7 separate regions of the Homo sapiens genome follow, and all the other regions are linked to region 7. Evidence: promoter capture Hi-C in human tissues and cell types (Jung and others, 2019). All regions are on one chromosome and are shown on one strand. Each heading gives the region's core, a stretch centred on a gene start or on the middle of the fragment in contact. The rest is flanking DNA. Distances are from core to core; before and after follow the strand shown. Region 1 has its middle 640 kb from the start of SNORD3P3. Region 2 has its middle 360 kb from the start of SNORD3P3. Region 3 has its middle 470 kb from the start of SNORD3P3. Region 4 has its middle 450 kb from the start of SNORD3P3. Region 5 has its middle 310 kb from the start of SNORD3P3. Region 6 has its middle 620 kb from the start of SNORD3P3. Region 7 holds the start of FLRT2 (fibronectin leucine rich transmembrane protein 2).

Region 1 (2,747 bases), core at 42-2,541, 900 kb after region 7:
CTAAATTCTTTTGTTTTTAATAAACTGGTCTTTAAGCTTAGTTTCTAAAGAATAAAGTAATCATGTTAGAAATATAGTGATATCCAGGTATTAATTAAAATGGTAGGCGTTTTCATGACTCCCAAGAGCTATAGGCTTTGATCTTTATCATCTCTGTATGCCCCATTACGCCAAGTACATGGTAGCACCTCAGTATATGCTTATTATGTGATTGACATAATATTGACTTAATTACTGAGTTGTGGTTATTGATGGTAGGTTAAAAATTTCCCCTCAATCTTATTGCATTTAATTATTTAAATTAATTTATCACATTTGTATTTCTATTTAAATCTCTGTAAAGTCAGAGAATGCCAATTTTTTAAGGATATTAATGTTTGCATACAAAGATACACACACAAACACATTTATACATTTACACACATATGTACATATGAATATAACAAAGTTTCACTAAGCTGTTTCATTTCACATTGTAAATAATTGATTAAGTGACCTCAAATCTATTAGGTCATAGGTGTGATAGAATTACAAATAAACAATAGGAATATGAAAGCCAGAAGACAGATGTAGACAGCTAGATGGCATCCAACATGTCAATTATAGTAGTGAAATGTAGTTATTGTGTGAAGTATTGCAAATCATGATTATTCTTTCCCCCCGAAACAAATAAATCAAAAAAAAACTTTTTTTTTCCATTTGCAGCAAAAACCTGTTTGTTTGTATATCAAAATGTAAAACTGCTGTACAAAACATGGCAACTTAACAGCCATCCAGTGCCAGCAATATAGAGCCAGCCATGAGCAGAGCTGGCACACTGAACACTGCAGTGACTGGTATGATACCCATAAAAAGGTTCCACACATCTATGTTGCAGTCAATTACCAGTTATTTTGTGTTATTACTAAAAAAACCCTTTTTTTCCCCAAATATAGAGCAGATCTAGGACTTCTGTGAGTTCCTTGACTCATGGCCTAAATTTTCCAGGATTCTAGGGTTTGTGTTTGAGTCTTCAGAATGATTAAGAGGCTCTCACTCTGGCAGCCAAATCATCAGGTAGGAAAATCCATAATTAGATTAATGTTGTTTTTTTCAAATGCTGACAGACAGTTGCTTTCATTAAGTTATGCCTCACCCAGTGAAGTGAAAATTGAGAACCATTCCTTCATTCACCTTGTATGAAACTTTCTTACTGAGGTCTCACTAGATGGGGTCTGTTAAAAACCACACCAGAGGAATTTCCTTATTGCAGACCACTCATTCATTCAATGCGGCTGAGCAAATCATTGAGCTAATTTACCAACTTCACATATTTTGTAATTGTATTCTTACAATATAAAGGGACCCAATAAATCCTGCCTAGTCCTTGGCAGATCATATTCTCTGCTCCTGTTTTCAGAATTCTTCTTTATCCCTCTGGTTTGCAAAACTTATGGTAAATGCACTACAGTTTAGCTGGTGTAGTGTCTTTACACAGAGAGGTGTGAGGCACTTCCACAGATTAAAGATGAATTACAGATCCATGTCCCAGGATGACATCCTTTGCTCCTATGTGGGGGCTCTAGTGGCATTCAAATAGTGACTTGGAGTGTTTCTTCCTGCGGGGTCTCTTTATCATGACATCTATTTGAACAGGGTTTTCCTGCATTACACACACATTTTGGCTAGAAATTAGAAAACAAAAATAACAAACAATAATTTATTTTGGAAATGAATAAAAAAAAAAGAATATCAATTCAGGAGAGAAGAAAGAGGTCCCTTATAGCAATAGTAATGCTTGGCAGATAAATGTTAATCTGAGTAGCTCACTAACTCTTTAGGCTATCTAAAATGATTCCTTAAGAGGGCAAAAAGGAAAATAGAGGCAGACTCCTTGGAGAGTATCAATTTATTGATAATGAAAAACAAAAAGCATAGGATGTAGATGTGATCACTAAAAGGAAATGTGTACAATTATAGTTTGTCAATTTACAATAAAAATTAGCAGCAAGTAAAAATTTTAGAATGAATACTACAATATCTAAAATTTTAAAATTACCACTTTGGGCTTAACAATTTATTAAATATTGTCAAAGAAAAGATAAGTAAATCAAAGATAAGAAAATAAGATGTTTCCAAATTGAAAAATAGAAAAAAAATTTAAAAAATGAAAAGGTCCTCAGTTATTTGAAGGATAGTATCAAGTAGTCTAAAATATGCATAATTGTAATTCAAAAAAGAAAGAAAAAGAGATGTGGATACAACTACTTAAATAAAATGTATTTTTTCCAAATGCAATAAAAGCTATGAATATATAGATAAAATAATTATCATGAATGCTAATTAAAAAACAAACAGAAAGAAAACACCATCAAAGCTTATAAAAATCAAATTGATAGAAATTGAAATTTTAAAAAATCTCAAAAAAAGTCAGAGGAAAAAAATATATATCATCTTCATGAAGTAAAGCTAAAAATTACTGATGACTTTTGAAAAGAATGTAAGACAGAAGGCAATGGAACAAAAAATTTTCAGGTTAGCTCAACAAAAATTCACTATAAATATAAAAGACACATATTCAGTCAAATAAATATTAAGATTTTTTCATTAGACATATAAGAGCTATGAAAAGAACCTGAAACTAAACAAAATATAGGCACACAAAGCATGTGGATATATATGATTTTGACATCAAATATATTTATAGAGCCCTATACCAAGCAACTGAAATACACAAGTTGTTTGTGTACTCATAAAATAGTCACAAA
Region 2 (2,981 bases), core at 40-2,539, 620 kb after region 7:
CAGAAGGCAAGTTTAAAAATCTTTAAAGTATTTTTTTCACAAATATTAGTTAAAACTTTTAGCCATCTGGGTAAGAAATCTTGTTCCATTGGCCAGAAAAATAATTTTGATCCAGATAGTTTTAAATAAAATAGTGAGTTTGTGTTATTGTACTTGGTGCATGGACAAAATTTTAAAATGAAAGCTATACAATCTCTTTCTATATGTTTATCTATATCTGTATGATATGTATATATACATACATGTATATGTGATATTTGTCTATCTTACTATACTGTCAGATTAAATTACAAAGGAGCTCTGTTTAGTTGTCTTTAAGAAAAATAAGGCTTATATAAATGAAATATTCTATCAAAAAATAGGATCTAACCCAAATGCATTTCGAGTTCATGTGACTTGGGTAATCTTTGATAATAAAAAAAAAAGTTTGTTTGATTAAAATAGGCATGTCTTCAGCGTTTTCAACATTAAATATAATACATACTCACAATTTTTCCTACCTAAGTTTACTGGTAAAATAAGCTTATGTTATCTCTATACTTAAAAAATTCATTGGTAAAATAAGAATAATTATAAAAACATAATGGCTGGCTGTTTTGTGTTTTATCAATATCAGAAATCCAAGCATAATTATTAAAAATAAGTAAGTTATATAAATGTAAGATAAACTTTCCGTGTAAGAGATGTCCTTCCTATACCAGAAGCATTTTACATTTTTATCACTGAAAATGGGTAGTTGAGGCCAAGAAAAATCTGTACAAACAATTTAATTCTCAGACCTAGCCCCCACCACCAAGAAAAAGAAAAAGTTAACAGGATAGAGATATCAGTTTTCCTCATTTATTACAGAGAGAGTAAAGATATCTGAGACTATTAGTAAACGTGCTCTGTGCCGCATTAAGAAATTTGCACTGTGAGAAACCACACGCTTCTAGAAATTATAATTCATACATTTTGCCAAACTATAGATTGCTAATGTGACAGACAGCTGACACTTGGTTGCTTACTGATGTTCAGTGAAAATTAAGATCACTAAGGGTAAAAATTATAATTAATATATGTAACTAAAATCACTAGAAATAATAAGAAAAGAACACTGTGCAAATATACAAGGAAGGTAAAATGTGCTTTTGTGAGGAATAGTGATATAATATGAGGATGTTTTATTATCTTTAAGGTAAAAAGCATAATTTTTGCTCTAAAATAGAATGATTCATGGTTCCCAAATGAGAAAGGGAAAGTATAAGACAAAAACTAAATGGATGAGAAAGCTGTGGAAGGCTTGTGGAAGATGAACCTTATGAAAGGAATTTTATGTGTGATCAAACTGGCTAAGATTAGAAGTAAATTATAAACTTTTATAAAAGATGACTATCAGTATCAAAAATGTACCGATACAACACCAGAAGTTTGTTCTCGCTATTATAACAACAGGGTTTTTTGGAGTATTGGTCTCCCTTTTTTTTTTTTTTTTTTTTGAGACGGAGTTTCACTCTTGTTGCCCAGGCTGGAGTGCAATGGCGCTATCTCGGCTCACGCAACCTCTGCCTCCCAGGTTCAAGCAATTCTCCTGCCTCAGCCTCCCGAGCAGCTGGGATTACAGGCATGCACCACCACGCCTAGCTAATTTTGTATTTTTAGTAGAGACGGGGTTTCTCCATGTTGAGGCTGGTCTCGAACTCCTGACCTCAGGTGATCTGCCCACCTCGGCCTCCCAAAGTGCTGGGATTACAGGCGTGAGCCACCGCGCCCAGCCGGTCTTCCCTTAATAGAAAATGTTGAATTTTTTTTAAACTTCTGAGTAATTTGGCTAGGAAATAAAAATTCACTGTTTTACCTAAATAATTTTCTATGATTAATGATGTCTTCATTAGGTTTTGATCATGTGAAAAAGCTGAATTCTTTTTTTTAAAAGGATTTAAGGTTTTTCTACAGCCAGGTTACATTCTGTATTTACCTTTAAAGCCCTTTAATTATTACTTTGGTTAAATGAATGACTGTTGTTCATAGTGACCTAAGATTTTATTTTGATCAAGTATTTCAAGTCTTTTATTTTTTGTGTGTGAATTTCTCCAACTCAAACTCAAGTGTTTGTCTTGACCTAGAATTAACTTTAGAATTTTCCATATAGATGCATAGGATACCTCAATTAGATAACTCTCCTTACAAAAACAGAGATATTGAGATAATGTGGCTTATTTAGTATATTAAATTATATCGAAAGCCTTGTCAAATAATAAGTAATGGTAAACCTTCTTTGGGTTATATTTGTATGGATGTGATATTAATATGTATTTTAGAAATTGTATGAAATTCACAGAAATCGAATAGTCCTGGTATAATGCTATCAGTCATAATTCTAGTAGTTACCATAAAATGTTATATGCAACAGAAATAGCCAAATTTCCTTGTCAATTTGTGTAATTGTTGCAATGAACTTTCACCAGATCTTTAATCATGGCCATTTCAAGTCTTGTAATTCACAGATGGTTAACTGTTTACTTTGGTACCTTCCTGAGCAATGATAAACCTAAACACTTTCATCTTCAAGGAGATTCACGGAAAGGATTCTGACAAATACAGGTTTCTGATAATTTGAGATCATGCCTCTGAACTCCGTAAGAATTTCCAGAACTCTAACAAAGAAACTGACTGATTTTAAAAACTGTTAAGCCAACATCAAGCAGAATAAAACTTAATTAAATAACAAGAAAACTATTTGGCAGATTTTCATGCTAAGTCACTCAGTACTGACATTGTTAAGATATGTAATCAGAACAAACTTCATAGGATTTATCCAAGTCAAATTATCTATGATAATCTACTTAATAAACTGTGCGATTCACCTGGAAAAACAAAATTGGTATCTGAATAGGAAAAACAAAATTAGTTTTTAAAAAGATGTAAACTCAATATTAAGCTTGGACTCACAGAGGGCCAAGACAACCATCTGATTCTTCTGTGTGCTTGAAGCTTCCACT
Region 3 (3,067 bases), core at 301-2,800, 730 kb after region 7:
GCCAAGACCACACAAGGAGAAAAAGTTAATAGAACTTTAACCTGTTCTTTATCCTCCAAGTGTCATGTGTTCCTTCTGCTACAAGCTGCCTTATGTTCCTCTTCACTAGACTCTCCCTTAAAACACATAGGATAATATACGCTTAGTACTTTGGGCATACGTGGACATTCGCCCTATCTGACCAAGCACAGGTATGCAGGTTATATACAGTACGTGCTTGCCCTACAATTATTTCCAGCTGAAGATATTTAGTGCCTTCTCTGGTCCCTCTCATTGGTCTACTTTTCTTTCTCTTTCTTCAGTTTTGCTTCTTGCTATCTCATATGATTTGGCTGCATGTCCCCATCCAAATCTCATGTTGAATTGTAATCCCCAGTGTTGGTGGAGGAACCTTGTATTAGTCAGGGTTTTCTAAAGGGACAGAACTAATAGAGTAGATGAATATATGAAGGGTAGTTTTTTAGGAGATTGACTCACACGATCACAAGGTGAAGTCCCACAATACACTGTTTGGAAGCTGAGGAGCCCAGAAGCCAGTCCAAGTCTCAAAACCTCAAAAGTAGGGAAGCCAATAGTGCAGCCTTCAGCCTGCGACTGAAGGCCTGAGAGCCCCTGGCAAATCACTGGTATAAGTCTGAGAGTCCAAAAGCTGAAGAACTTGGAGTCTGATGTTGGAGGCCAGGAAGCACCCAGTATGGGAGAAAGATGGAGGCCAGAAGACTGAGCCAGACTAGTCCTTCCAAGTTTCTCTGCCTGCTTTATCCTAGCCATGCTGGCAGCTGATTACATGGTGTCCACCCAGATTGAGGGTGGGTCTGCCTCTCCCAGGCCTTTGACTCAAATGTTAATCTCCTTTGGCAACACCCTCATGGAAACAGCCAGGAACAATACTTTGCTTCTTTCAGTCCAATCAAGATGACACTCAGTATTAACTATCAAAGACCTCATGAGAGGTGATTGGCTTATAGGGTAGATTTCCTCTTGCTGTTCTTGTGATAGTCAGTGAGTTCTCACGAGATCTGTTGTTTAAAAGCATGTAGCACTTCCCCCATTCACTTTCTCCCCTGCTCTGCCATGTGAAGAAGCTTCCTGCTTCCTTTTGGCCTCTCCACCATCATTGTAAGTTTCCTGAGGCCTCTCCAACCATGTTTCCTGTATAGCCTGTTGACTGTGAGTCAATTAAACCTATTTTCTTTATAAATTATTCAGTCTCTTTCTTTATAAATTACTCTTTATAGCAATGTGAGAATGGAATAATACACTACCTTTTCCCCTTCTATCTTTTCCCACTTTCCCTGTACTTTCTCCATTTAGCACTATTTCTTTAGGGAATTGGTGAGAGGAAAATGAGTTAGAATTAGATCATTGGGTAAGTAAGTGAGGGAAGAAAGCTGAAGCTTTTTAGTTTTTCTTCTCCTCTTCTGACCAAACAAAATGAAATAAGTATGATTGATGGTAGCTTTGTGTTATTTCTGAAGGCCAAGTGGTGAAACATCTGATAAATGTACTTTCTTAAAATGCAATTTAAACAGAGTAGAACTTATCTCTTATCTCTTTATAAAAAGCTCCCGATTGTGAAAGACATGAGCAAAGAAGTTATTAGTCTAGTCTCACACACTAGAAAAACTGAATAGAATTATACACTATTCCCTACCATGAATAATTGTGAAATGTAGACATTTTAAGCCCTGGCTATTTAGGTAACATCTACCACTGCATTTACATGAGATTTACATTAAACTTCAATCCCCAACAAATACAGTCAGAAGGTATGTTCATATTCCTTAGCATATCTTTTGCAGGGAAAAAAATCACGATTTAGTTCCCTGATTTAAAAATAGGTCAAGAAATGGGAAGTTCCATATTTAATTTAATCAGGACCTAAATAATGACAGCAAGGACCAAAGTGTTTTGTTTTGTCTTGTTTTTCCTTTTCTCTGCTTTAATGTCTATCTATAATCCGGCATTCAAGATAGCTGCCAGAGTTCCATGCATCATATCTAGGCATGGCAATGTAGTGCAACAAAAGACACCATTCTTTCGATTGACTTACTTTTTAAGAGTAAGCAACCTCTCCCAGGAGCACCCTCTACAGAAACCTTAAGACCTTATTGGCCTGCATCACATTCCATCCTCATGCTTAAACAAAATAGATTGAATCTGATTCGTTGCTGAGATTGGAATAGGGCCAGCCTTTCTTATAGATATGTATATAAACTACATCAGGTTCTGTAAATAAGAAAGCAGGGCAAGCAAACTGTGTAGGTAAGCAAAAATGACTGCTACAGCATTTGAATTTGATTATTTATTACATTTTTTTCTGTTGCCATTCCTGCAGAAACTCATGAGATGGTCTTCCAATAAAGTTGTTTTGTTATTATGTTGGTGAGGAAAAAAAATAGATTCTCAGCTGAGGACACTGCATGGTGTTTGCAAATTCTCCCGACGTCTGTGTGAGTTTTCTCTAGGTATTCTGGTTTTCTCCCACATCCCAAAGATACGCACGTTGGGTTCACTGGTGTGTGTAAATGGCTTTAGTCTGAGTGAGTGTGTGTATATGATTGCACTCTGCAAGGTAATGGAGTCCCATGAGGGTCAGTCCTCCCCTTGTGCCCTGAGCTGCTGGATGGGCTCGGGCTCCCTGAGACCTTGAACTAAGGTGAACGGATTGAAAAATGAAAAAAAAAAATGAATGAATACACATTGTAAAATATAAATTAATCAGGTACACAATAATCATAATAGTCATACAAATGCACAAAAATAAATGATGCCGCATGAAAGCACATGGCGAGCCTGCCCCATTTGTGATTGTTTTTGATCTGTTTAGTGGTAGAGGGTGTTCCATACAATATTTGCTTTGCAAATATTTATTTCTTGATTTAACTCACCACCACTATGGCCACCTTTACTCACTGATTCACCAAAAATTGAGTAAATAATTATCTTATTTGTTCCTATTCATCTTTTGTAAATGTATGCATAGCTCACATTTATTTCAATGTTCCTAGTAGACGTATTTTGGTTCTTTATTTAGAAGTTTGGTGAAGGTTTTGTGACCAGAAAT
Region 4 (2,892 bases), core at 361-2,860, 710 kb after region 7:
TAGTTTTGATTTTAAAAAGAGAACATTTGGTCTAGGCCAACGTTTCTTCCTTTAGGGAGAGTATGGAGTCAGATTTACGTTTGTGTATATAGACTTTTAAAAACTGATGACTTTCAACAGTACCAAGTCTTTTCATAGCTTCACTATTACTGCTACTAAGTTGTCTAATTGTGGGTGGGGGCGTGAGAGAAAGAGAAAGGAGAGAGAGAAAGAGATAAAAGAAATAAGAAAACACATCCTTTATACTAGAAGACTCAGAATGATAAAAATATCCTGAAAAATATCAGTTGTTCTAGAAAGTTTGATACTAATGTAATTAGGCAGTATTGATTACCTTCCCAAATACTCCAAAAAATTGAGAAATTTAAAAAATATTGTTTCTCCCTACAGGGTTATTTTGTTTAGCTGAAGTTGCGGAGTATTCGTAACATGAAAGAAGTTTCACGAAATACAAAATGTGTGGACACTATGGGAGTCTTATTAGATGAAACATTTTTATTATTAGAATATTAGATTCCTGAAACCTCAAAACTGAGAAATCAGAGAAAGTCTATAAGTCTGAGAAGCAATTTTAATCATTCTATCCAGAGGAAACAGTACTTGAACCATTTTTACTAATTGTCTAATACTTTATGTGCTTGGGTCCATTTCACCAATGTTTTACATAAATAAGGGGTTGAAAAATGACAAGTCTGCTATTATAGAAGTTCAAGTGATATTGTTTCACAGGTTTTTAAACTTTAAAATCTTAGTTCTATGATTGTTATTTATTTACTTGAATCAGAAAATTTTAGTCCCTTCGGTTTCAATAAAGTTAAATTTAACATCGTGGAAATGAAACAAAGCTCCTGCCTCATTATACAAATCAAAATATCAAATCTAAGTGTCACACTTAGACTTCTTAACTTTTAGTTTAAATTAAAGATAAAAATGCCTTAACTTTGGCTGGGCTATTCAGCATAGAATTATTTCTGCACATTCAAGTAATTGACTTAAAAGCTTAAACAAATCTCTTTACCTGACACAGCTATCTAATTGCAGCAACAATCTGACTTCATTTTGTCTGCTGCATGAATTCAATTGACTTCCATATGGCATTGTGGCTTCACTGCATTTGTTTGTTTGTTTTTCTGGGATAATCAACAGGATGGTGAGAAAGATACATAGCTGTGAGCACACACAACCATACCTTCACAAACATTTGCTTCCAGTTTGTGGTGCAAGTTGAGCTTATTTTGAGCCAACCTGGAACTCAGTTCAGATTGTCTAGCTTTTGTTTGTGGCCTGTCCTCCATACCCCAGGGACAGATCAGGTCCCTCATGCACCTGGTGAACCATGCAACATTAGAGCTTGGTAGGGAGAGGAAATGTAATTTTTTTTTCTTTGAACCCAGCTGGCATTCAATATACTCTCTGAAACAAGAGGACTGTAACATTAATCCAGTTTAATATGCATTTTTAATAAAACTGCAGATTCTGTTCTTCTTCATACATGTCCAACTCTAAAGTGTCACTCACTGCTCAGATTTTGTTTCTTATATTTATTGTGGGAAATGACGTTACAAAATGTGCAGTTCCTTGTAAAACATTGGCTTTTGAGACATTTTCTTCTCCTCTCTGTGAATCAAAAACTAAAATTATAAATTACCTCTGCAGCCTACATGTCCCAGGTTTTTATTAGGGTCTCAAAAATCCTCCTCATTTGAAATGTAGCCAACTGAGTTAAAAGCTTTAATCATGAAGGATTTAGAGCAAACTGGAGAAATTTTCTTTGCAAGGACACCTGACATTCTTTAGGCCAGTGTTTGATATGGTGCTGTAGTCACGTGGCCTTCTAGGGCCAAGTCCCAAGAATATGCCATAGCTTTGTTACAATATGAACAATACCTAGAGCAGAAAAAGTAAAAGACCATTTTTATTAAAGCCAACTTGCCCTGGATTTCTAGGTCCACTCATTTGCATGGAATGATGGCTGCTGTCATACATTTTAATAGTTGCCTGATCTTATGTCTGCTGGGAGGTGATCACCTTCAGTTGCTACACATTCCCTAGATTTGGTTGGCTTTGTCAACTTGTCATGGTCACTCTTGATCTCTGATGTCTGAGGCACTTTCTTTCAGTCGACCCTCTCTATAAGCATTGACTCTTATTCTCAGCCTTTTCCTCGGCTTTTTTAATAGTCACATGAACTCCATTTTTTCCCAATTCAACACACGTGAGGGATGAATCAGATATCGACAGTGGTTCTCAATAAATGTTCCCAGGTTAATTTGTTCCTCAAAGGAGGCTCTGCTCACTTCACACCCTACCTCTCAGAGTGTTAATGTTTGTAATATTTATCAATTTACTCATGAACAAGGAGTTTAAACAAATGTGCCACAGTGATCATCATACAGTGCCTGCCCTCAAGGAGCTGACCATGAGGTTAGAAAAGGGCAAAGTGAGAACGGAGATATCTGCCTCTATGGAGTGTCAGCACTGAAAACTAGCACTTATGTCAACAAGACTAGTATTTTTCCAGAAGATGTGTTTCCTGGAAATAAAATACTAACTGCAAGGCAATACATAACTTCGCTGCTTGCTTCAAGAAATTTCTGAAACCCAATTTATTTGATCAAGAGATTACATTTTTGGGCATATAGCCTGCATTTCAGGATAATAGGTTTCCCACTTTGGCAAAAAGGTAACTTATCAAATACCTGTTTACTTATTAAGGCAAATGACAAGACCCTGGCACCTCTGTGTTCATCACTTTTAAACTATTAGATCACAAATTTTGTCTAATCCAAATCAGTTCCCTCTCTTGGAAGACCCGCCTAAAACTACTTGAGCCCAGATTCCAAAACTCTATAACTACATTCCTGAGACACAAGGTAGACTCCTTAAAGTGGA
Region 5 (2,884 bases), core at 78-2,577, 570 kb after region 7:
CTTCCTTAGTCTGCTCATTCTCTAGTCCACTCACTTAAATTTCTTTTTCATTTCCTCCTGATATTTTTTTTAATTCTGGTATAGTATTCTTTTGATTATACATTCAAACATGTTCCTCTTACATGTTTTGAGAAAATCTGAATGTAAGTTCATATAATTGCAAACAATTTCACACAATATGGATTTGAAATCTAGACTGTAAATTTATTAGATGCATTTAAGTTTTAATACAAAATGTTCTTATAATATAATCACTAGTGGAATTAGCTTTTAATCTTGTTAGACAAAGTTTATAAGATGTCATTATTTTCGATGAGGCTCCTGCTCTAGGCCTTAGCACCTAAGGTTGACTCCAGATCAAACCAAAATGGAGTCACTTTTGCAAAGTGTCATGTAATCAAACTGAATTTTCAAATAAGCTTGTTTTCTAAAAACCAGGAGATTCTAGTGAACCTGAGTCAGCACAATCAGGCACTTTCCTCTGTTTTAAGCCTATAAGGAAAGTACCTTTGACGTGAACAATTTTCTTGTTCCTTGTTTCTGATTTCTTTAGCCATTTTCTGGCTATAAAGCTAAACTTTTCTGCTCGACTTATTGTAATACTCATTCTACTTTGTAGAAAGAACTGTTGCCCGATTCTAGAATCACAAATAAAAGCCAACTAGATCTTTAAATTAGATTTGTTGTGATTTTGTCATTTGATAGTCAATGTAACTAGTTAGTCCTAAGAAATTTTTGCATGTCTACATTGACTTTCAATAATTTTGAGAAGTAACTACATAGATTTTACTCATTCAAGTAGAAACTTGGAATGTACTTTCTCCAGAAAGTGTCAAATCAAGAGCTATAACTTTATTAGTACATAGCAATAAATTCCTCATATCAGATTCTGGTTTAAAAATACAATATAAGACAATGCAAGCTTAAGGGTGTGGAAAACTAAGTGTATTTGATATACTTTCGTTTTTCAAAAAGTTTATTACCTTAATGCCACATTTTACAACATTCCATGGACCACTTGCATCAGAATCACTTGAGCTGATTACTTTTTGTTCAGTTTTATTTTTTAACTCAGATATATGTGGACTCTGACATAGTGAATCGGAATTCTATGAGAGAGACTCTTATTGAAGAATTTTCAGTAAGTTCGTTAAGTCATTCAGCAAACATCTCAGTGTCTACCATGTACCATCCATTGTTATAGGACTAGTGATACAACCACAACTGCTACCTGTCACAGAAAACTACATTCTATTTGATGGGAGACAAGTAAACAACAAATTAATTTAAAAGTAATTATAATGTCCGATGTGGTAAGTGCTATGGATAAAAATAAAGCATCTCAAAGGGTTAGGGACTACAATTAGAAGGAAGAGGAGGAGGAGATTTCAATTTCAAATAAAATAATAAAGGAATGTATCATAGAGACAAGGCATGAAGGAAGAGAGGGGAAAATCCAGTAAGATATGTAAAAGGAAGGACTTTCCAGGCATAATAAATGAGAGCTGAGATGAGAGGAGCCCAATATGTCTGAATAAGAGCAAGAATACTAGGGTAGCTGAAGTGAGCTGAATGCAGCAGAGACAGTATTTCTGGGTCCATAAGAGAGTGAATTTTGCAGACATACTGCTTGGTGACAACCACTCACTTGCTGTGTGACCTCTGCCAAGCTTCATAATTGCTCTGTGTCTCAAATACTTCATCTATAAAATGGGAGCAATAATTGTGCCTACCTTATTGAGTTGTTATGAATGTTTTATATTTGCAACTGCTTGGTACTCATAAAAATAAAGAATAGAACCAGAAGATGGGTTCAGAAAGGCAAGAGGTACCCAATCTGTAGAATATTTACTTTCTCTCTGAGTTGAGAAACCAAAATAGGTTTGAGTTGAGAAATGGTGAGATCCAACATACATATTAAGCAGGACAAAGTTTTGTATTTTTTTTTATTCCTGATTAAGGAATTCCTCGGAAAGAACACCTTGAATTTTTGATCCAGCATGTCATTTATTTTATTTTATTTTTGTGGCCTTCAACATCTGAATATCAAAAATCTCCTGTGTTTAAAATACCCTCAAGTATTTCCAAGGGTTAATGTATGTTCCAGCACCTGTTATTCCGGTCATGAATAGTAGAGCACCACTCATACTTTCCTTGTTGCTACAACGTAACACAAATCTGTCATTTCCGAAGTTCTTGACCTGCACTTTCCTTGTCCCATATTACAGGATATATATGTTTGTCCAGCTTATCTCACTGTGTTACTTGAACGTCAACTGAGATAAAATACACATTAGCTCATTGAAAATGGTAAAACTCTGTAAAAGCAAATATTTGATAACCCATGGTGTTATTCTGGTCTTTTTGAGTTTTATAGCATTGGGCCAATTACAGCGGGTCCCCAAATTGTGATAGTTCAACTTACAATTTTTTTTAAAGACAAGTTTTCACTCCATTGCCCAGGCCGCAGTTACAAATTGACACTAAAATTGTGTGAAAGAAATACACATTCAGTAGAAACTATATTTCCAATACCCATACAACCTTCTTTTTTTTGTACTTTCTGTATTCAATACATTACATAAAATATTAAACACTTTTTTTATAAAATAGAATTTGTGTTAGATAATTTTGCCCAACTACGGGTTAATGTAAGTGTTCTGACCATGTTTAAAGTCAGCAAAGCTAAGGTATGATGACTGGTAGGTGAGGTTTATTAGCTAAGCTATGATGTTTGGTAAGTGAGGTCTATCAAATGCATTTTCAACTTACAATATTTTCAACTTACAATGGGGTTTATCAAGATGTCATTCTGTTGTAAGTCATGGAGCACCTCTACTTTTATATCCCATTTTAAAATTTAAACAGAAAAGCTCCACTTATC
Region 6 (3,191 bases), core at 111-2,610, 880 kb after region 7:
TTGGGGAATTTCTTCCCCTAGCCAAGGGAAGCCGTGAGGGACCATGCTGTGAGGGAAAATGCTATCTGGCCCAGATTCTACATTTTCCCCACAGTCTTTGCCACCCACAGACCAGAAGATTCCCTTGGGTGCCTACACCACAAGGGCCCTGGGTTTCAAGCACAAAACTGGGAGGCCCTTTGGGCAGACACCAAGCTAGCTGCAAGAGTTTTTTGTTTGTTTGTTTGTTTTTTCCCCAGTGGCACCTGGAATGCCAGCAAGACAGAACCGTTTACTCCTCTGGACAGGGGTTTGAAGCCAGGGAGCCAAGTGGTCTTGCTCAGCAGATCCCAACCCCATAGAGCCCAGCAAGCTAAGATTCACTGGCTTGAAATTCTCGCTGCCAGCACAGCATTCTGAAGTCAACCTGGGAAGTTCAAGCTTGGTGTGGGAAGGGGCATCTGCCATTACTGAGGATTGAGTAGGTGGTTTTCCCCTCACAGTGTAAACAAAGTCGCCAGGAAGTTCAGACTAGGCGGAGCCCACCACAGCACCCCAAAGCTGCTGTAGCCAGACTGCCTCTCTAGATTCCTCCTCTCTGGGCAGGGCATCTCAAAAGACAGGCAGCGACCTCAGTCAGGGGCTTATAGGTAAAACTCCTATCTCCATGGGACAGAGCACCTGGGGTAAGTGGCGGCTGGGGGATGCAGCTTCAGCAGACTTAAATGTTCCTGCCTGCTGGCTCTGAAGAGAGCAGATCTCCCAGCACATTGCTCGAGCTCTGCTAAGGGACAGACTGACTCCTCAAGTGGGTCGCTGATCCCCGTACCTCTTGACTGGGAAAGACCTCCTAGCAGGAGTTGACAGACACCTCATACAGGAGAGCTCCAGCTGGCATCTGGCAGGTGCACCTCTGGGACAAAGCTTCAAGCGGAAGAAGCAGGCAGCAATCTTTGCTGTTCTGCACCCTCTGCTGGTGATACCCAGGCAAACAGGGTCTAAAGTGGACCTCCAGCAAACTCCAGTAGACCTGAAGAAGAGGGACTGGACTGTTAGGAGGAAAACTAACAAACTGAAAGCAATAGTATCAACATCAACAGAAAAGATGACCACACAAAAACTCTATCCAAGCGTCACCAAAAGCAAAGAGCAAAGGTAGATAAATCCACGGAGATGAGGAAAACCCAGCACAAGAAGACCGAAAATTCCAAAAACAAGAATGCCTCTCCGACTCTAAAGGATCACAACTCCTTGCCAACAAGGGAACAAAATTGGATGGAGAATGAATTTGACGAACTGACAGAAGTAGACGTCAGAAGGTGGGTAATAACAAACTCTTCTGAGCTAAAGGAGCATGTTCTAACCCAATGCAAGGAAGTTAAGAACTTTGATAAAAGGTTTGAAGAATTACTAACTAGAATAATCAGCTCAGAGAATAACATAAATGACCTGAGGGAGCTGAAAAACACAGCGTGGGAACTTCATGAAGCATACACAAGTATCAATAGCTGAATCGATCAAGTGGAAGAAAAGATATCAGAGACTGAAGATCAGCTTAATGAAATAAAGCAAGAAAGGATATCAGAGATTGAAGATCAACTTAATGAAATAAAGCATGAAGACAAGAATAGAGAAAAAAGAATGAAAAGGAATGAACAAAGCCTCCAAGAAATATGGGACTATATGAAAAGACCAAACCTATGTTTGATTTGTGTACCTGAAAGTGACAGGAAGAATGGAACCAAGTTGGAAAACGCACTTCAAGATATTATCTAGGAGAACTTCCCAAAACTAGAAAGACAGGCCAATATTCAAATTTAGGAAATACAGAGAACACCACAAAGATACCTCTTGAGAAGAGTAACCCCAAGACACATAATTGTCCGATTCACCAAGGTTGAAATGAAGGAAAAAATGTAAAGGGCAGCCAGAAAGAAAGGTTGGGTTACCCACAAAGGGAAGCCCATCAGACTAACAGTGGATCTCTCTGCAGAAACCCTACAAGCCAGAAGAGAGGGGGGCAAATATTCAACATTATTAAAGAAAAGAATTTTCAGTCCAGAATTCCATATCCAGCCAAACTAAGCTTCATAACCAAAGGAGAAATAAAATCCTTTACAGACAAGCAAATGCTGAGGGATTTTTTTTTCCACCACTAGGCCTGCCTTAAAAGAGCTCCTGAAGGAAGCAATAAATATGGAAAGGAAAAACTGGTACCAGCCACTGCAAGAACAAACCAAAATGTAAAGACCATCAATACGATGAAGAAACTGCATCAACTAATAGGCAAAATAACCAGCTAGCATAATAGTGACAGGATGATATTCACATATAACAATATTAATGTTAAATGTAAATGGGCTAAATGTCCCAATAAAAAGGCACAGACTGGCAAATTGGATAAAGAGTCAAGACCCATTGGTATGCCATATTCAAGAGACCCATCTCAAGTGCAAAGACACCCATAGGCTCAAAATAAAGGGATGGAGGAAGATTCATCAAGTAAGTGGAAAGCAAAAAAAAAAAAAAAAAAAAAAAAAAGCAGAGATTGCAATCCTAGTCTCTGACAAAACAGACATTAAACCAACAAAGATCAAAAAAGACAAAGAACGTCATTACATAATGGTAAAGGGATAAATGCAACAAGAAGAGCTTAGGCAGTTAGATAGATTAACAAGACAGAAAATTAACAAGGATATTCAGGACTTGAACTCAGCTCTGGACCATACAGACCTAATAGACATCTACAGAACTCTCCCCACCAAATCAACAGAATATACATTCTTCTCAGTACCACACAGCAGTTATTCTAAAATAGACCACATCATTGAAAGTAAAACACTCCTCAGCAAATGCAAAATAACAGAAATCATAACAAACAGTTTCTCAGACCACAGTGCAATCAAATTAGAACTCAGGATTAAGAAACTCGCTCAAAACTCCATAACTACCTGGAAACTGAACAACCTGCTCCTGAATGACTACTGGGTAAATAATGAAATTAAGGCAGAAATAAATACGTTCTCTGAAACCAATGAGAACAAAGACATGACATACCAGAATCTCTGGGACACAGCTAAAGTAGTGTTTAGAGGGAAATTTATAGCACTAAATGCCCACAGGAGAAAGCAAGAAAAGTCTAAAATCAACACCCTAACATCACAATTAAAAGAACTAGAGAAGCAAGAGCAAACAAATTCAAACGCTAGCAG
Region 7 (2,879 bases), core at 322-2,821:
GGGGGTGCTAATCGGAAGGGAACAGACAGTGAGTGCCATCTTGCTGGGAGGTTCCAGAAGCAAAGCGCCAACGACGACAGTAGCGGTGGCCTCAGCTCCACCAGTAACTGCCGCTGGCAGGAGCACCACACGCTCTAGGAGTTTCCCGGGTATCAAGTATGGGTCCAGCCCGTCCCAGTTATCCTCTTCCCCTATGGCTTCATTCCCGTTGTCAGTACCCCGACCTCAGCTTGCAACCTTGATCTTGGGCTTGATTATAAATGACGAAAGACCGCGGCAGCCTTCAAAGTGCGGGAGCGAGCCCCGTACTGGTCAGCGCGGCGGAGGGATCTTTCCAGGAGGCCCCAAGCCCCCAAGCCTGTGGAGAGACTTGGTAACAGCTGGCAAGGCCTGCTCCAGCCACCCTCGCTGGCTCCTTGCCCCTGCATTCAGCGCCTGAGGGCGTTATTCGCCCTCTCCCTGCGTCCCACGCAAGCGGCTCAAGGAACTCACTCGATCCGGATTCCGCCTCGTATGCTCTCCAAGCCTTCGCCACCTCCGCAGGCGCTCTAGAAAGGCGTGATGGCCCCAGCTCAGTGCCCGCCAGCCCGAAGAGGACAAGCAGGGCTGGAAGGGACTTGGTTTTGGAAAAAGCCCCACCCGCCCCCACCAACTGGAAGGAAAAGGAATTAGTATCCACCGCATCTGTTTAACTGCTAATAGATCCCAGATTACGGGCAGGTAGTAGGTTGGTGTCTTTAGATACAACAGCCTGATAATAACGCTGGTGACATTAACAACAGCTTGTGGAGGGGAGAGGGTTGTTACTGGTGAAAGTTAAGAGATTCAATCTAGGGAAGTAGGAGACTGAACTCTGACAAGGTTAGGGGCACTGAGAACCCCAATTTAGCATCGATGCATCTACCAGGCAAGAAAATTTGCGTTTTGACCCAGAACTCAGTCATGATGCTCCGTAGAGGAGGTGGATTCGACCAGCAGACAGATGTCCCCAAAGTCGAGAGAGAGCTAAGCTGCCTATTTTCTCTCCAGGTGAAAGACAAAGCCTAGAGCACCCCACTTAAGATGACCACCCCCAGCTCTTTCAAAAAAAAAAAATCCCCCGAAGAGACAGCGTGGTGCCAGCGTAGCAGCAGCTCGGCCGGTTACTGGAAACTTCACCTGGCAACGCAGCCCCTTTTACCTGACGGCTGCGTCTTCTCCTTGCAATGGGCTCATCCGAATCCGACAGGGTCAGGGAGGTGGAAAGGGAAGACGCTGGCGCGGCAGCAGCGGGGATCCCGGGGCATGGTATTGTTTTAGGGGTCGCCGCCGAGGTCCCTCCTGCCCATCGTTGAGAACTGCCACCCTGATCCCAGGGCTCGGTGGACACGGCGGCGGGAGCGGAGATGCCGCCTCGCCGCTGCTGGGCACCAGGGACGGAGGACCAGAGGCGCACCTCGGAAAGGAGTAGCTCAGCGCCTTGGCGCGGAGATTTGCGGGCACTGATGATATCTCGAGCGCTCGTTCCTCCGCGGTGACAATGGATAATGCCAAACGCGCAAGTGACGGCGACAGGTTTCGAACGTACAACTAACTACAAGGTACCCAGCCTGAGACAGTATGCTGCTTTTCCCCTCCTCCTCCTCTCCCTCCTACCAGGGAGGGAACTAACTTAACCCTGTGTGCGCCTGACACTCCCTAGAGAAGCTGGGATCGACTAGGAAACCGCAGGCAGCGGCTCCCGGGGGCGAGAGCTTTGTTCACGTGCGTTTCCAGTGGGTGTGTTGCTGTCTAGGGGCACTCGCGTGGCAAGACGCCCGTGGCTGGCTTCCAGCGCCCAAGATTCAAGGAAGGGAAGGAGCCCTAGCGTTTCATCCGGACCAGACCCAGCCCTCGGAGTCTATTTTTTGCCTCCAGTTACCGGATTTATTGAAGTTGCCAGCGAAGTTGGTTTTATTCCTTTACTTCTCTGCTCTCCGCCCCCGTCCACATCCCCCAACCCTGTATTATTTCCTGTCCTAGCTGCGCTTTAAAGATTCGGAACTTTTCACTCGTTCTAGCTACAGATTTTAACTGTGTTCCGTGTGCGAGACGAATTGTGGAGGGCACCCACCCACCCATGCCAAGTGTAAATGAAACCGCAAGAAAAGCTGCCTCCCACTCACCCATCCAGTGTCCGAGTAAGCCTAATGACACACATTCACATAACTAAGAAGACACGGGAAGATAGGGGTGCGGAGGACGGAGTTTGATGTGTGAATGGGAAATGGAGAGAGGGGACAGCGCGCGCGAGAGAAACAGCGCGAGCCTGAGCCTTAGAATGGAATAAACGGGAAACACACACAAGAATGACGATGCAAAAAATGTATCTAAGTCCCAACATTGACAGCAGAGGGTCAGCTTTAAGCGCCTACATTTTGATCCGCGAAATTTCCCAGCTTTTTTGGAGGCGGTTACATAGAGAACACAGGAGCCTCTGCCTTGGCCGCCCAGATGCTTTGCATTTTGTAAACAGCTTTGACTAAGTGCTCTGGACTTCCAAGAAGTTAACTGGAGTGGAAGGCGAGTCATATTGTGGATGCGGAATGGAAGCTTAGACAAGAAAAAACTGTCAGCAGAGCGCCTCTGCTCTCACCGTCACACCCAAATGAGCCAGGACGTCGCTCAGAGCGCAAACTGAGATCCACACAGGGACATCTTCAACCGAATCTTTCTTCTGTCTCCATTCCGGACTAAGGAAAGAAAGAAAGAAATACGGAGCCTTTATAGAGTATTCAGAGGCTACACACATGGATCTTGCTGAAACGGAGTTATTTAAAAACAGAGAAAGTGTGTTTTCCCATGAGATAGATGTTATAGTTTCTCTCTGAAACATACCCAAGTCTATGGGTGTCAATAAT

The links. Contacts are between HindIII fragments. The study calls those that stand out against the background at their distance.
Region 1: a fragment that was not itself captured here is called in contact with the fragment with the promoter of FLRT2 in region 7 in 2 of the 25 tissues and cell types used here (dorsolateral prefrontal cortex and mesenchymal stem cells).
Region 2: a fragment that was not itself captured here is called in contact with the fragment with the promoter of FLRT2 in region 7 in 2 of the 25 tissues and cell types used here (aorta and mesendoderm cells).
Region 3: a contact is called between a fragment that was not itself captured here and the fragment with the promoter of FLRT2 in region 7, in 2 of the 25 tissues and cell types used here (dorsolateral prefrontal cortex and mesenchymal stem cells).
Region 4: a fragment that was not itself captured here is called in contact with the fragment with the promoter of FLRT2 in region 7 in 1 of the 25 tissues and cell types used here (dorsolateral prefrontal cortex).
Region 5: a contact is called between a fragment that was not itself captured here and the fragment with the promoter of FLRT2 in region 7, in 1 of the 25 tissues and cell types used here (dorsolateral prefrontal cortex).
Region 6: a fragment that was not itself captured here is called in contact with the fragment with the promoter of FLRT2 in region 7 in 1 of the 25 tissues and cell types used here (mesenchymal stem cells).

Annotation. Positions count from the first base shown.
Region 1 is chr14:84,626,080-84,628,826 of GRCh38, reverse strand. No RefSeq gene overlaps it. Among named protein-coding and RNA genes, the nearest start is that of SNORD3P3, 640 kb to the left of the region's middle. The HindIII fragment of the contact is 5,079 bases long and covers 1-2,747 here.
Region 2 is chr14:84,912,692-84,915,672 of GRCh38, reverse strand. No RefSeq gene overlaps it. Among named protein-coding and RNA genes, the nearest start is that of SNORD3P3, 360 kb to the left of the region's middle. The HindIII fragment of the contact is 3,316 bases long and covers 1-2,947 here.
Region 3 is chr14:84,803,138-84,806,204 of GRCh38, reverse strand. No RefSeq gene overlaps it. Among named protein-coding and RNA genes, the nearest start is that of SNORD3P3, 470 kb to the left of the region's middle. The HindIII fragment of the contact is 3,651 bases long and covers 1-3,067 here.
Region 4 is chr14:84,820,984-84,823,875 of GRCh38, reverse strand. No RefSeq gene overlaps it. Among named protein-coding and RNA genes, the nearest start is that of SNORD3P3, 450 kb to the left of the region's middle. The HindIII fragment of the contact is 3,596 bases long and covers 1-2,892 here.
Region 5 is chr14:84,963,053-84,965,936 of GRCh38, reverse strand. No RefSeq gene overlaps it. Among named protein-coding and RNA genes, the nearest start is that of SNORD3P3, 310 kb to the left of the region's middle. The HindIII fragment of the contact is 3,770 bases long and covers 1-2,884 here.
Region 6 is chr14:84,652,657-84,655,847 of GRCh38, reverse strand. No RefSeq gene overlaps it. Among named protein-coding and RNA genes, the nearest start is that of SNORD3P3, 620 kb to the left of the region's middle. The HindIII fragment of the contact is 3,197 bases long and covers 1-2,958 here.
Region 7 is chr14:85,528,836-85,531,714 of GRCh38, reverse strand. FLRT2 (fibronectin leucine rich transmembrane protein 2) reads right to left here and starts at 1,571. Exons shown (of 2, transcript NM_013231.6): 1 at 1,181-1,571. It overlaps FLRT2-AS1 (FLRT2 antisense RNA 1), which reads left to right and starts at 56. Exons shown (of 2, transcript NR_184170.1): 1 at 56-2,879. The HindIII fragment of the contact is 3,489 bases long and covers 1-2,879 here.